Linked DNA regions of Homo sapiens: all the other regions are linked to region 2. The links are contacts of gene promoters, found by promoter capture Hi-C in blood cells and fetal thymus (Javierre and others, 2016). All regions are on one chromosome and are shown on one strand. The core of a region is centred on a gene start or on the middle of the fragment in contact, and the rest is flanking DNA. Distances in the headings are between cores, read along the strand shown.

Region 1 (3,721 bases), core at 147-2,646, 240 kb after region 2:
TCACTGCAACCTCCGCCTCCTGGGTTCAAGTGATTCTCCTGCCTCAGCCTCCCAAGTAGCTGGGACTACAGGCATGTACCACCACACACAGCTAATTTTTGTATTTTTAGTAGAGACAGGGTTTCACCATGTTGGCCAGATGATCTTGATCTCTTGACCTTGTGATTCACCCACCGCAGCCTCCCAACGTGCTGGGATTACAGGTGTGAGCCACCACACCTGGCTTCAAATGATTATTTTAATCTGAGGTAATCCTGAGTGACCTCGGTGGAGGACACATTTTTTCAGAGAGGATTTTTGCATATCAAACTATATAAGGGATTCTTACTAATTGATAAAAAAAAACAGTGAAACAATCTAATGAAGAAATAGACAAAGGATATGAACAGATATCTCACAGAAATAAATACAAATGGCCAATTATCATGAAAAATGACTAACTTTACTTGTAATCAGGGAAATACAGCTAAAGAGATTATTTTACATTCATTGGATTGGCAAAAGATAAAAGCTTGATAACAACCAGCATTGGTGAAGGAATGTAAGGGAAATAAGAGCTTTCTGACATAAATGGTTGGAGCGTAAAACGGTATATGACCTTTTTTTTTCTGAGATGAAGTCTCGCTCTGTCAGCCAGGCTGGAGTGCAATGACCTAATCTTGCCTCACTACAACCTCCACCTCCCAGGTTCAAGCAATTCTCCTGACTCAGCCTCCCCAGTAGTTGGGACTACAGGTGTGCGCCACCACGCCTGGCTGATTTTTGTATTTTTAGTAGAGACAGGGTTTCACCATGTTGACCAACCACCATGTTGGTCTCGAACTCCTGACCTCGGGGGAATCCACCTGCCTTGGCCTCCCAAAGTGCTGGGATTATAGATGTGAGCCACCGCTCCCAGCTGGTATACAGCCTTTTTTTTTTTTTTTTTTTTTTTGATATACAGCATTTTAAGAGGGTAATTTGGCACTATACAATACAATTTTTACAATTCACATTTCCTTAACCCATTCAATTTCTAAGTATCCTAGAAAAACAGTATAGACATGCACAAAAACACATGAATTCTCTTTTTTTTTTTTCTTGAGACAGGGTCTTGTTTTGTTGCCCAGGCTGCAGTGCAGAGGCATGATCACAGCTCACTGCAGTCTCAACCTCCTGGACGCAAATGATCCTCCTACATCAGCCTCCTGAGCAGGTGGAACCACAGGCACATGCCACCATGCCTGGCTATTTTTTTTTAATTTTTTGTAGAGATGAGGTCTTGCTATGTTGCCCAGGCTGGTCTTGAACTCCTGGGCTCAAGTGATCTGCCCACCTCAGCCTTCCAAATTGCTGGGATTACAGGCATGAGCCACCGCACCCGGCCTGCCTCTGCCTCCTTGAACACTAATGATCCTGAGTTTTATCCACAGTCCTCATCTCACTTGGTGATCTCTACTCCAAGGGTTGAACTAACACGTAAACACAGACGATTCCCATTTCTATATCCAGCCCAGATCACCCTCCGAAATTCCATGTCATTACCTACTGGATATTTCTACCTGTGTCACCCACGTCCAATCTCACATATCGAAAGATAAGGCCAGGCGAGGTGGCTCACGCTTGTAATCCCAGCACTTTGGGAGGCCAAGGCAGGCGGATCACCTGAGGTCAGGAGTTCAAGACTAGCCTAGCCAACATGGCGAAACCCCGTCTCTACCCAAAATACAAAAATTAACTGGGTGTGGTGGCACATACCTGTAATCCCAGCCACTTGGGAGGCTGAGGCACGAGAATTGCTTGAACCCAGGAGGCGGACGGAGGCTGCAGTGAGCCGAGATCACACACTGCACTCCAGCCTGGGCAACAGAGTGAGACTCTGTCTGAAAAAAAAAAAGGTAAGACTAATTTGCTCTCATCTCCTGCTCTCTCACCATGATAGCTCCTGTCCTTACTCACTCTCACAAACATGCTTCTCTGCCTTCTCACATCCCAGTAACTAAGGATCCACCATGCATCTAACTGCTCATCAAGTCTGCAACCTGGAACACGTCTTGACTAAATACAAATTGGATCAGTGGCTCCCTGGGGTCTTCAGGATAAAAAAAGTTTAAATGACATCACATGGCTTAAAGAACTTGGCCCTGATTTGGTCCTTCAATGCCAGCTTTTTATTAACTTACTCCCAGTACTCCAGCTGGTAGTACTGTCCACACGAGGTGGAAAGCCATTTGGTCAAAACTAGATTGTTTGAAATAACAATTTAATTAACTCATTCATTAATCAATTAATTCAACATTTATTAAGCTTTATTATTTACCATGTACTGGATATTATGGCATTGAAGAAATAGTCACCAGGCCAGGAGCAGTGGCTCATGCCTGTAATCCCAGCACTTTGGGAGGCTGAGGCTGGCAGATCACTTGAGGGCAGGAGTTCGAGACCAGCGTGGCCAACATGGTGAAACCCCGTTTCTACTAAAAATACAAAAATTAGCTAGGCGTGGTGGCATGCACCTGTAATCCCTGCTACTTGGGAGGCTGAGGCAGAAGAATCACTTGAACCCTGGAGGTAGAGGTTTCAGTGAGCCGAGATTGTGCCACTGCACTCCAGCCTGGGAGACAGAGCAAGACTCTGTCTCAAAGAAAAAAAAAAAAAAAAAGGAAATAGTCATCAGTACTTTAGTTTAGTGGGGAGGACAGGTTTTAAATAAATAACTACATGAATAATTAAATAGAATTAAAAATTATGACAAATGCTATAAAGGAAAAGTATAAGATGGATTGAGACGCTAGTGATTTAGATTGTGGAGTGAAGAAAGGAAGGCCTCTTAGAGGAAGTGACTTAAGTGGAGACTTGAAAGCACAAAATAGGGAAAAGCTGTTCATGTGCAAGGCCCTGAGAAGGGAGTCTCTCAGCCCCCAATTCACTTTTTTTTTTGAAACATTTTTCCTTTGTTGGCTCAATGTTACGCTTTGTCAATAGAGGGCACTTGGGGAACAATGCAGTGATAGTGGAAGGAAGGCACTTCCTTCATGGGTTCTGGTTCTCTTCTCATACTCAGCGTGGGAGCCAATGGATCAGTGTACAGAAGCCCTAGCAGCGCTCACCTCAGTGGTCCTCAGGACCCGCCCCAGCTGCCCCTCATGTGTCCCACCTGCAGCTGCCTCCAAGGCAGCTTTGGCTGCACCACCCTGCAACTGTCTCTAGAATCAACAGAAAAAATATACAGGACACTCCATTAAATTTGAATTTCAGCTAAACAACAATTTTTTATTTTTTTTATTTTTATTTTTAGTATAAGTGTGTCCCATGCAACATTTGGCATTGTATTTTTCTTTTTTTGAGACAGGGTCTTGCTCTGTTGCCCAGGCTGGAGTGCAGTGGCATGATCATGGCTCACTGCAGCCTCAACTCCCCGGGGTCAAATCATCCTGCTACCTCAGCCTCCCAAGTAGCTGGAACTACATGTGCATGCCACCATGCCTGGCTAATTTATTTATTTTAATTTTTTATGTTGTAGAGATGGAGTCTCACTATGTTGCCCAGGTTGGTCTCTCAAACTCCTAGGTTCAAGCAATCCTACCACCTTGGCCTCCCAGAGCGCTGAGATTATAGGTGTGAGCTACTACACCCAGCCAAACCAAATTCTAAAAGACCCTAATTAACTGATGAGTGATAGCCAGGAAGAGTCCAAAACATTACCTCCTAAGTATTTAATTTATGTTTGCAATGTAACTAA
Region 2 (4,126 bases), core at 612-3,111:
AATTTCCCAATCCCCAATCAAGACATCTCACATAAAACTTTAGGGTCACTTTTGGGTATAGAGGCAATTTGTATGCTAAAATACTACAGATTGAAATAAGTAGAGGAATTATGACGATTCAAAATAATGAGAGCAATTCTGGAGGGAATAAGTCAAAATATTTTATGCTGAGACTGTCTTAGAAAATCCAAGACCTGTCATCCCTGTGTATATGTTCTTATACCTCCAGCTAGGCACTCAGTAGACATGTGAATCTCCCTTGTCTTTGATGCTGACTCCCTCTCACATTCCTCTCATCCTCAATCAACACATTACATGGTTTTTCCATGAATCAATCTTTATTGGTGTTTGCAGCAATTGAATTATTGGCATAAGGCACAATGGGCTTCAAAGCAAATGACAGAAAGAAAATACGATTGTACAGGTGGAAAGGCTCTTCAGGGAGGTGTCCCAGAGCAACTGTGACCCTCACAAAGACCCTGCAGCTAGGACCCAGCCCAACTAAGACAGGCTTTGAGGACCTGAGAGTGACCAAGCCATACCTCAGGGAATCTGAAGGGGTCCCACAGTTCTTTCAAAGACAAGCATTTCTAGCTTCCTTGGGAGCTCTTCCAGCCTTTGAGTCTTTGTCATCAACAGCAGCTTGATGACCATGGGGACCCTGTCCCTCTAAGCCAGCCTGCTCTCCCTCACCTGTGCCTGTTCAGTGGAAGCCTCCCCTACCAGGGGCAGATTAAGGCCCCTGCAGAGGGAGGCAAAGGGGAGAGAAGAGCAAGAGTTGATAAGCAGACTGGCCAAGCCCAGTGACCCCCATGAGGATATGCAACCCCCCCCACAGCGGTGGGTCTTCCCACCAATATTTAGGAGGTTAAAGAAAAGGTGGCTTCTCAGTGGGATAGCTCCTGCCGCCCTTCTTCTGAGGAGGGGTCCTCCTCTATGAGCTCCAGGTCAAACTCATCTTCCAGGGACCCTCCCACAGGCAGAAGGCGAAACTTCTTCCCTTTCAGGGTGCATGTGCGGTGCTCAAAGTCCAGGATAGCATTGTGGTCCTGGAGCACATCAGTGCCAATGATGGCTTCCTCGGCACTCGCATTGGCCACTAGGAACTGTGCCTTCAGCTTCAGCTTGCCTAGGGACACCGCTGTATCCCAGACACCCAGGATCTTCATTTCAGCACCATTGGCCACCTTTACCACATTCTCAAAGGGCTGCAGGGTGTCCAGATCGCCATCAGTGACCTCCTCCCACAAGTTTGGGTGGACCACAGAGACCTGGGCCCCAGAGTCCACCAGGAACCTCACGGGCACTTTGCCAATCTTCCCCTTGAGATAGTAGCCCTTACCCATGCTGTTGGCAAAGACGATCTCTTTGGGCAGGTGGCTGGGGGCAGCCCCAGGGACCCCAAAGGCCTTCAGGAGGGCCTCTTTCACAGTCCCATAGTCTCCCTGGTCCTGGGGACTGAGCCTATTGTAGACACCCAGGGCCTCTCCTCTGAGGGACTCTTTCAGGAACCTTAGCTTGGTGATATGGTCCCAATGGTTGAGGTCATTGATGACTTCAAAGCTGTGCAGCCAGAGGTTTGGGACGACATTGGCCCCATCAAAAGGTTCCGGGACGAAGGCATGCTGCCGGCGGCCTTCCTCACTCCTGGCTCCGCTCCCGGCCATCCTGCTGCTCTCCTCTGGAACCTCAGCAGCAACCCACGCCAAGAAGAGAAACCCACAGAGCAGTGTCGGCGCAATCACGCTGGAAAACGGGGCCTCTCGAAGCAGAGTGGGGATGACTTGCCCGGCCTTGGGCAAGCAGGAGGGAGCAGGCGCGGTCGGCTGGCTGACTGCTGGGGCAGAGGCAGGCAGTGCTGTGGCCTGTTCACTCTGCAGAGCCTTTTTGATGCCTAGGCTGGCCCCTGGGCTCCCCATTCTCCTTTGTTCTGGAAGCTCCGCCCCTCCTCACCCCGCCCTCCTGCCAGCATCCGGCCGGACTAGCAGGATGGGTGCCTCACCCTCTGCATCCATCCTTGGACCAACACCAGCCAGCCCACATCCCAAGAAAGGCCAGCCTCTGTTGAAGGGGGACTACCCTGTACCCTCCCTGGCCTGTGTTCCAGAATAACAGATGAGGACACGGAGGATGTGATGACATTCAGGTATTTGTCATCAGCCAGTGAAGGAAGGGGAGGCAGGGACCAGACGCCCATCAGCTCAGAGACCGGGGAAGCCGCCATTGGCCTCCCCAACAAGTGACTACTTTGAGTGGTCAAAGGAAAACAGTTTACATGTACTGAGCTCCTACCACATGCCAGGCACTGGGAAGTGTCTCACACACATTCTAAAGCAGGTATGGGATCCTATGGGATTTCCTGGAGAGGGAGGCAGAGGAGGGTTCCAGCATAAAGAATGCACAGAAATGGTCTTTTTTAAGTGAGTGAGGACACACACACACACACACACACACACACACACGTGCACAATCATCTTACATGGACTCAACTGCTGCAGTAATTTTCCTTCATTGATCACCCCTGATTCAGAGGCAGAGGGGTGGCCAAGCAACTCTGGGTAGGCCCCATACTGCACTCCATGAGCATTGTCTCCACCCTATCCACCCCTCTCCATTTCCAGGAACTGTTCCAGGGCCCCTTCCCCAGGCACTGCAGCACTTCCTCTCCCACTCCCCAAGCTGGTCATTTGTGGAAAGATCACGGGAAATTTCACTCCCTTTTCATTCTGAGAGGGAAAATGTCCACTATGTTGGTGATGCCAGTGGTGAGGACCTGGAGGGCTCTGGCTCTGTGCCCCTCGCTGCAGGGGTAAAGGGTAGCACGGGAGGACATCCAGTCGTCTACAGAGGACATCTGTGAGTCCAAGGGCTGGAGGCCTGACTTGGGGCTGTGCAGGGGCTGTTGAAGGGATCCACTTTTATGTCCCCATTCAAAGGTCACTCCATGGAGCCTTCTGCCTGTCCCTAGAAAGGGCACCCACTCCTCGTTGAGCGTGTTTTACGGTGTGATCTGGTGGTTTGTTCACAAGTCTGCCTCTTGCTATGAACCAGAGTCTGGGGCTCACAAACCTGGCATTTGTGATTGTCTCCAGCCCCCAGAACAACTTCCTCTGGGACCCAGGGGCTCTTTGCTGGGCTCCAGGCCTAGCTGTGTGCTGTCACCAAACAGGAGTGATTAAGGATGGGAGAGGAGGAAGACTCGATGGCACACCTGTGGCTCTGGGGCTGTTTTTCCTGGCCAAGAGCCTGTCCCTCTTCAGCTCCCTATGCCATGCATCACCCAGTGCCTGGCGGAATCCCAGCAGTACCCTGCCTTTGGACAGTCCTGCCTCTGGATGGCCCAGGTCCCCAACCACAATGCAAGACTGTGCTGTCCCCAGCCCCTTCCACCTGATTCAGTGAGCCAGCAGAGAGGCAGTTGGGTCAACACCTCTCATCACAGCTGCCTGGCTAAGGTGGGGCCATTGTGGCATTCCAGGAGCCCAGAGGAGGGGAAATGGAGTCACCGAGAAGGTGTTGAGAGCAGGTGGTTCTTTGAGAAGACTGTATAATGAAAAACCTGCATCCAGAGAAATGGCCCAGCCACACGCAAGACCAGGAAGCCCTTTCTGCAGATGGACTTTTGCAGATAGCTTCCCAGCTGCTGGGATGAGTGTTGTTCTGTGGCTCAAAGAACTGATCCAGTGGTTTCCTGATTCCCTGGTATTCATTACCTCTGCACATCTGGTCCCCTGGAAGTGGAAATGAGTGAGGAGGTTAGCATGCGACCAAGGGAGGAGCGAGGCAGGTGGCTTGTCAGCTGACAAGCTGGGACTGCCAAATGCCCTGAACCGGCTTTTCAAACCATAGTGGTAGATGTTGAATTCCGATCTCCCTACTGCCCTTAGACTAGAAATCGGTGGTCCCTTGGGACCTCATTTGAGTGGGTTTGGTGTTCACATTGGCAAAGCATTTTACACACATCACCTCCATGAGGAGTATAACAACCTGGGAAGAAGACCAGCTCCGCTCCAGGACCCTGGAGCACAGGAGCTTCAATGGCCTCAGGTCCCAGGCTTTCCAGCGGCCAGAGAAGGGGATTTTGCAAGGACAGGGAGGTGAAGCGCTGGGCTGAGAGAGGTATAGC
Region 3 (3,719 bases), core at 91-2,590, 140 kb after region 2:
GGGCCAGTTTATACCCAAAATTTTAACAAGGGATTTGGGTATCCAAGATGTTAAAGCTTTGTTAGGGGAAAATAGGCTAAGCCCTCATGACCCATTTCTTCAGAAAAGATGTTTTAGAATAAGAAAAGGAAACTAGAATTTAACAGTCTGACAGGATATTCTTGCTAACCACAAATTTACAGAATTATAGTTTAGCCATAGAGGTCTTCTCCTTTCTCAACTTTTGCAGATCTCTCCAGTAAATGCCTCTACTGCTTGACTGCTTTCTGAAATAGGAAACCATTATAAAGTAGAATTTGTGTCCAAAGTGACTAGGCCCAGTTAGCTGGGATTTTCTCCATTTCAGTGTTGTTTCCCCCATCCTTAAGCACACTGGAGATTTTTCTCTGCCAGTTTGGCAGGTGAAAAAAATGGTATAGCATTGTTTTAATTTTCATTTCTTGGATTACTGGTGAGTAAAAAGAAATGTTATGTATCTCTCAGCTGTTTGCATTTCTCCTTTAGTGAATTGCCTATTCGTATCTTTTTCACCTTTTTCTATTGGAGTGTTCGTATTTTTCTTAATGATTGAGGATCTCGTTATACAGTAAAATATTAACGCTTCGACATATAATGCATTTTTTTAATGTGTCAGTTTTCTTTTAACTTCTGCTCTGCAGAAGTGTCTAATGATTAAGTAGCTAAATCTATCAATCTTTAACTTTATGGTTTCTGTCTTTAAAGTCAGGTTTGGAAAGTCCTTCCCTAACTTCAATAATTGTTTTTCAAAATTTCCTCTTTTTTCCTCCTAGTATTTTATATTTCCATTTTGTTATACTATTTAAATCTAAACCATCTGACATTTACTTGGGTATATATTATATATGATGGGAAGAGCTAGTAATTTTTTTTCCCCAAATTGCAGGCTCGTTGTCCAATGATATTTATTGAATAATCCAAGAAGGGAAAATATGTGGTCCGAGTGAATCTGTCTCCCCTTCCCGGGCCCCCGGAAGACATTTCTAATCAAATGCAGAACTCCTGGCTAAACTCAGACTAGGCCTCACAGCCCGATTAGAACTGCAAGCAGCTACCTCCAACCTACGAGATTTGTCATCAAGATGAAACATTTTGTCATTCCCTAAGTAATCTATCCTTTTTCCTATTGATGTGTTACTGACATACCTGTCTTTTCTTTCTGTGTTACTGACATACCTGTCTTTTCTTTCTGTGTTACTGACATACCTGTCTTTTCTTTCTGTGTTACTGACATACCTGTCTTTTCCTGTGCCAGCTCCACACTGTTTGGTTATCACTTCCAAGTACTAAATGGTAATGACTGGTAGCACCAGTCTTATACCATTTTTCAACATTTTAAAATTATTTCCTCAAACAAAAGTCAGACTCAGAATATGTCAGAAAATATTTAAAAATAAAAAATAAAATTATTTTTTCTGATTTAAACTTTTGATTTTTATTACATCAAAGTATTTCCAAAATAAATTAAAATTTAAAATTCATATTAGATTTTCCAATCTAGGTATACATAGTGTTTCTTTCCATTTTTAAAGATTCCCTTTATTTCTCTGAATGTTTTTTTTTCATAATGTCTTTCACATTACTGGTCGACTTTATTCCTGCATATTTCATATTTGTGGTTGCTATCAGAAGTGGAAGTTTTGGCAGGGCGCAGTGACTCACGCCTGTAATCCCAGCACTTTGGGAGGCCGAGGTGGGGGGATCACTTAAGGTCAGGAGTTCGAGACTAGCCTGGCCAACATGGTGAAACCCTGTCTCTACTAAAAATACAAAAATTAGCCTGGCTTGGAGCTGGGCATCTCTAATCCCAGCTGCTAGGAAAGCTGAGGTAGGAGAACCTCTTAAACCCAGGAGGGGGAGGTTGCAGTGAGCCAAGATCACACCACTCCACTCCATCCTGGGTGACGGAGTGAGACTGTCTGAAAACAATAAATAAATAAATTTTAAAAAATAAAAGAGTAAAAGAAGTGGAAGTTTTTTAAATATAACATCTCATTTCTCACTCTGTCACCCAGGCTGGAGTGCAGTGGCATGATCTCAGCTCACTGCAACCTCTGCCTCCCAGGTTCAAACGATTCTCCTGCCTCAGCCTCCCGAGTAGCTGGGATTACAGGGGCGTGCCACCATGCCAGGCTAATTTTTGTTGTTGTTTTTGTTTTTGGTTTTTGAGATGGAGTTTCGCTCTTGTTGCCCAGGCTGGAGTGCAGTGGCGCGATCTCAGCTCACTGCAACCTCTGCCTCCCAGGTTCAAGCAATTCTCCTGCCTCAGCCTCGCGAGTAGCTGGGATTATAGGCATGCACTACCACGCCCTTCTAATTTTGTATTTTTAGTAGAGACGGGGTTTCTCCATGTTGGTCAGGCTGGTCTCGAACTTCCAACCTCAGGTGATCCGCCCACCTCAGCCTCCCATAGTGCTGGGATTACAGGCGTAAGCCACCATGCCTGGCCTTAATTTTTGTATTTTTAGTAGAGGTGGGGTTTCACCATGTTGGCCAGACTGATCTTGAACTCCTGACCTCAAGTGATCCTCCCACCTTGGCCTCCCAAAGTGTTGGGATTACAGGCGGGAGCCACTGTGCCTGGCTTTGTTTCTTATTACTAGAATGTAAGCTTCATGAGAGCAGAGTCCACATATCTTTTGTTCATAACAGCCATAGAGCTGGCCGGGCATGGAGGCTCACACCTGTAATCCCAGCACTTTGAAAGGCCAAGGTGGGCGGATCACGAGGTCAGGAGATCGAGACCATCCTGGCCAACATGGTGAAACTCCATCTCTACTAAAAATACAAAAATTAGACAGGTGTGGCAGCACATGCCTGTAATCCCAGTTACTTGGGAGGCTGAGGCAGGAGAATCACTTGAACCCAGGAGGCAGAGGTTGCAGTGAGTTGAGATCGAGCCACTGTACTCCAGCCTGGAGACAGACCTAGACTCCGTCTCAGAAAAAAAAAAAAAAAATAGCCATAGAGCTTAAGAAACAGTGCCTCCACATTGTAGTTTCTCAATAAAAGTTTTTAAATGAATGAAGGAATAATGGCACAAAGCAATGCTATTATTTTAGTGTTATTAATTTGTAACAGGCGCCGGGCGCAGGGGCTCACTCATGCCTGTAATCCCAGCATTTTGGGAGGCCAAGGTGGGTGGATCACCTGCACTCAGGAGTTTGAGACCAGCCTGGCCAACATGGTGAAACCTCGTCTCTACTAAAAATACAAAAATTAGCCAGGCGTGGTGGCGTGTGCCTGTAATCCCAGCTACTCGGGAGACTGAGGCAGGAGAATTGCTTGAACCCAGGAGGTGGAGGTTGCAGTGAGCCGAGATTGCATCATTGTACTCCAGCGTGGGCGACAGAGCAAGACTCTGTCCCCCTCAAAAGAAAAAAAGAAAGAGAGAGAGAGAAGAAAGAAAGAAAAGAGAGAGAAAGAAGGAGAGAAAGAAGGAGAGAGAAGGAAAGAAAGAAAGAAAGAAGGAAAGAAAAGAAAGAAAGAAAGAAAGAAAAAGAAAATGAGCAAAGGAAGGATTTGGTGGCAAGGAGGTCATTGGTGATCTTAGTGAGTGTGGGGAGTATCTTTGTTGGGCTGGGGCGAAAGCCGCCTGTGATGGTTGAGGAGAGGTGACAATATGCAGACTGCCTCTGGGCTACTCCTTCAAGAAGCTTAGCAGGGCCAGGCGGTGGTTCACACCCACAATCCCGGCACTC

The links. Contacts are between HindIII fragments. The CHiCAGO score rates a contact against its expected background, and 5 or more counts as called.
Region 1: a contact is called between a fragment that was not itself captured here and the fragment with the promoter of ASPRV1 in region 2, in 9 of 17 cell types (total CD8 T cells, naive CD8 T cells, total CD4 T cells and 6 more). The highest score is 9.4, in total CD8 T cells.
Region 3: a fragment that was not itself captured here is called in contact with the fragment with the promoter of ASPRV1 in region 2 in 2 of 17 cell types (neutrophils and monocytes); the score reaches 21.5 in neutrophils.

What each region holds. Positions count from the first base shown.
Region 1 is chr2:70,196,543-70,200,263 of GRCh38, forward strand. No RefSeq gene overlaps it. Among named protein-coding and RNA genes, the nearest start is that of C2orf42, 7.4 kb to the left of the region's middle. The HindIII fragment of the contact is 1,775 bases long and covers 510-2,284 here.
Region 2 is chr2:69,959,770-69,963,895 of GRCh38, forward strand. ASPRV1 (aspartic peptidase retroviral like 1) reads right to left here and starts at 1,862. Exons shown (of 1, transcript NM_152792.4): 1 at 320-1,862. The coding sequence starts at 1,667. The coding sequence ends at 888. It overlaps PCBP1-AS1 (PCBP1 antisense RNA 1), which reads right to left. Exons shown (of 11, transcript NR_033872.1): 11 at 2,494-3,731. RefSeq lists a silencer at 1,748-2,042. The HindIII fragment of the contact is 12,271 bases long and covers 1-4,126 here.
Region 3 is chr2:70,103,787-70,107,505 of GRCh38, forward strand. No RefSeq gene overlaps it. Among named protein-coding and RNA genes, the nearest start is that of PCBP1, 18 kb to the left of the region's middle. The HindIII fragment of the contact is 2,573 bases long and covers 55-2,627 here.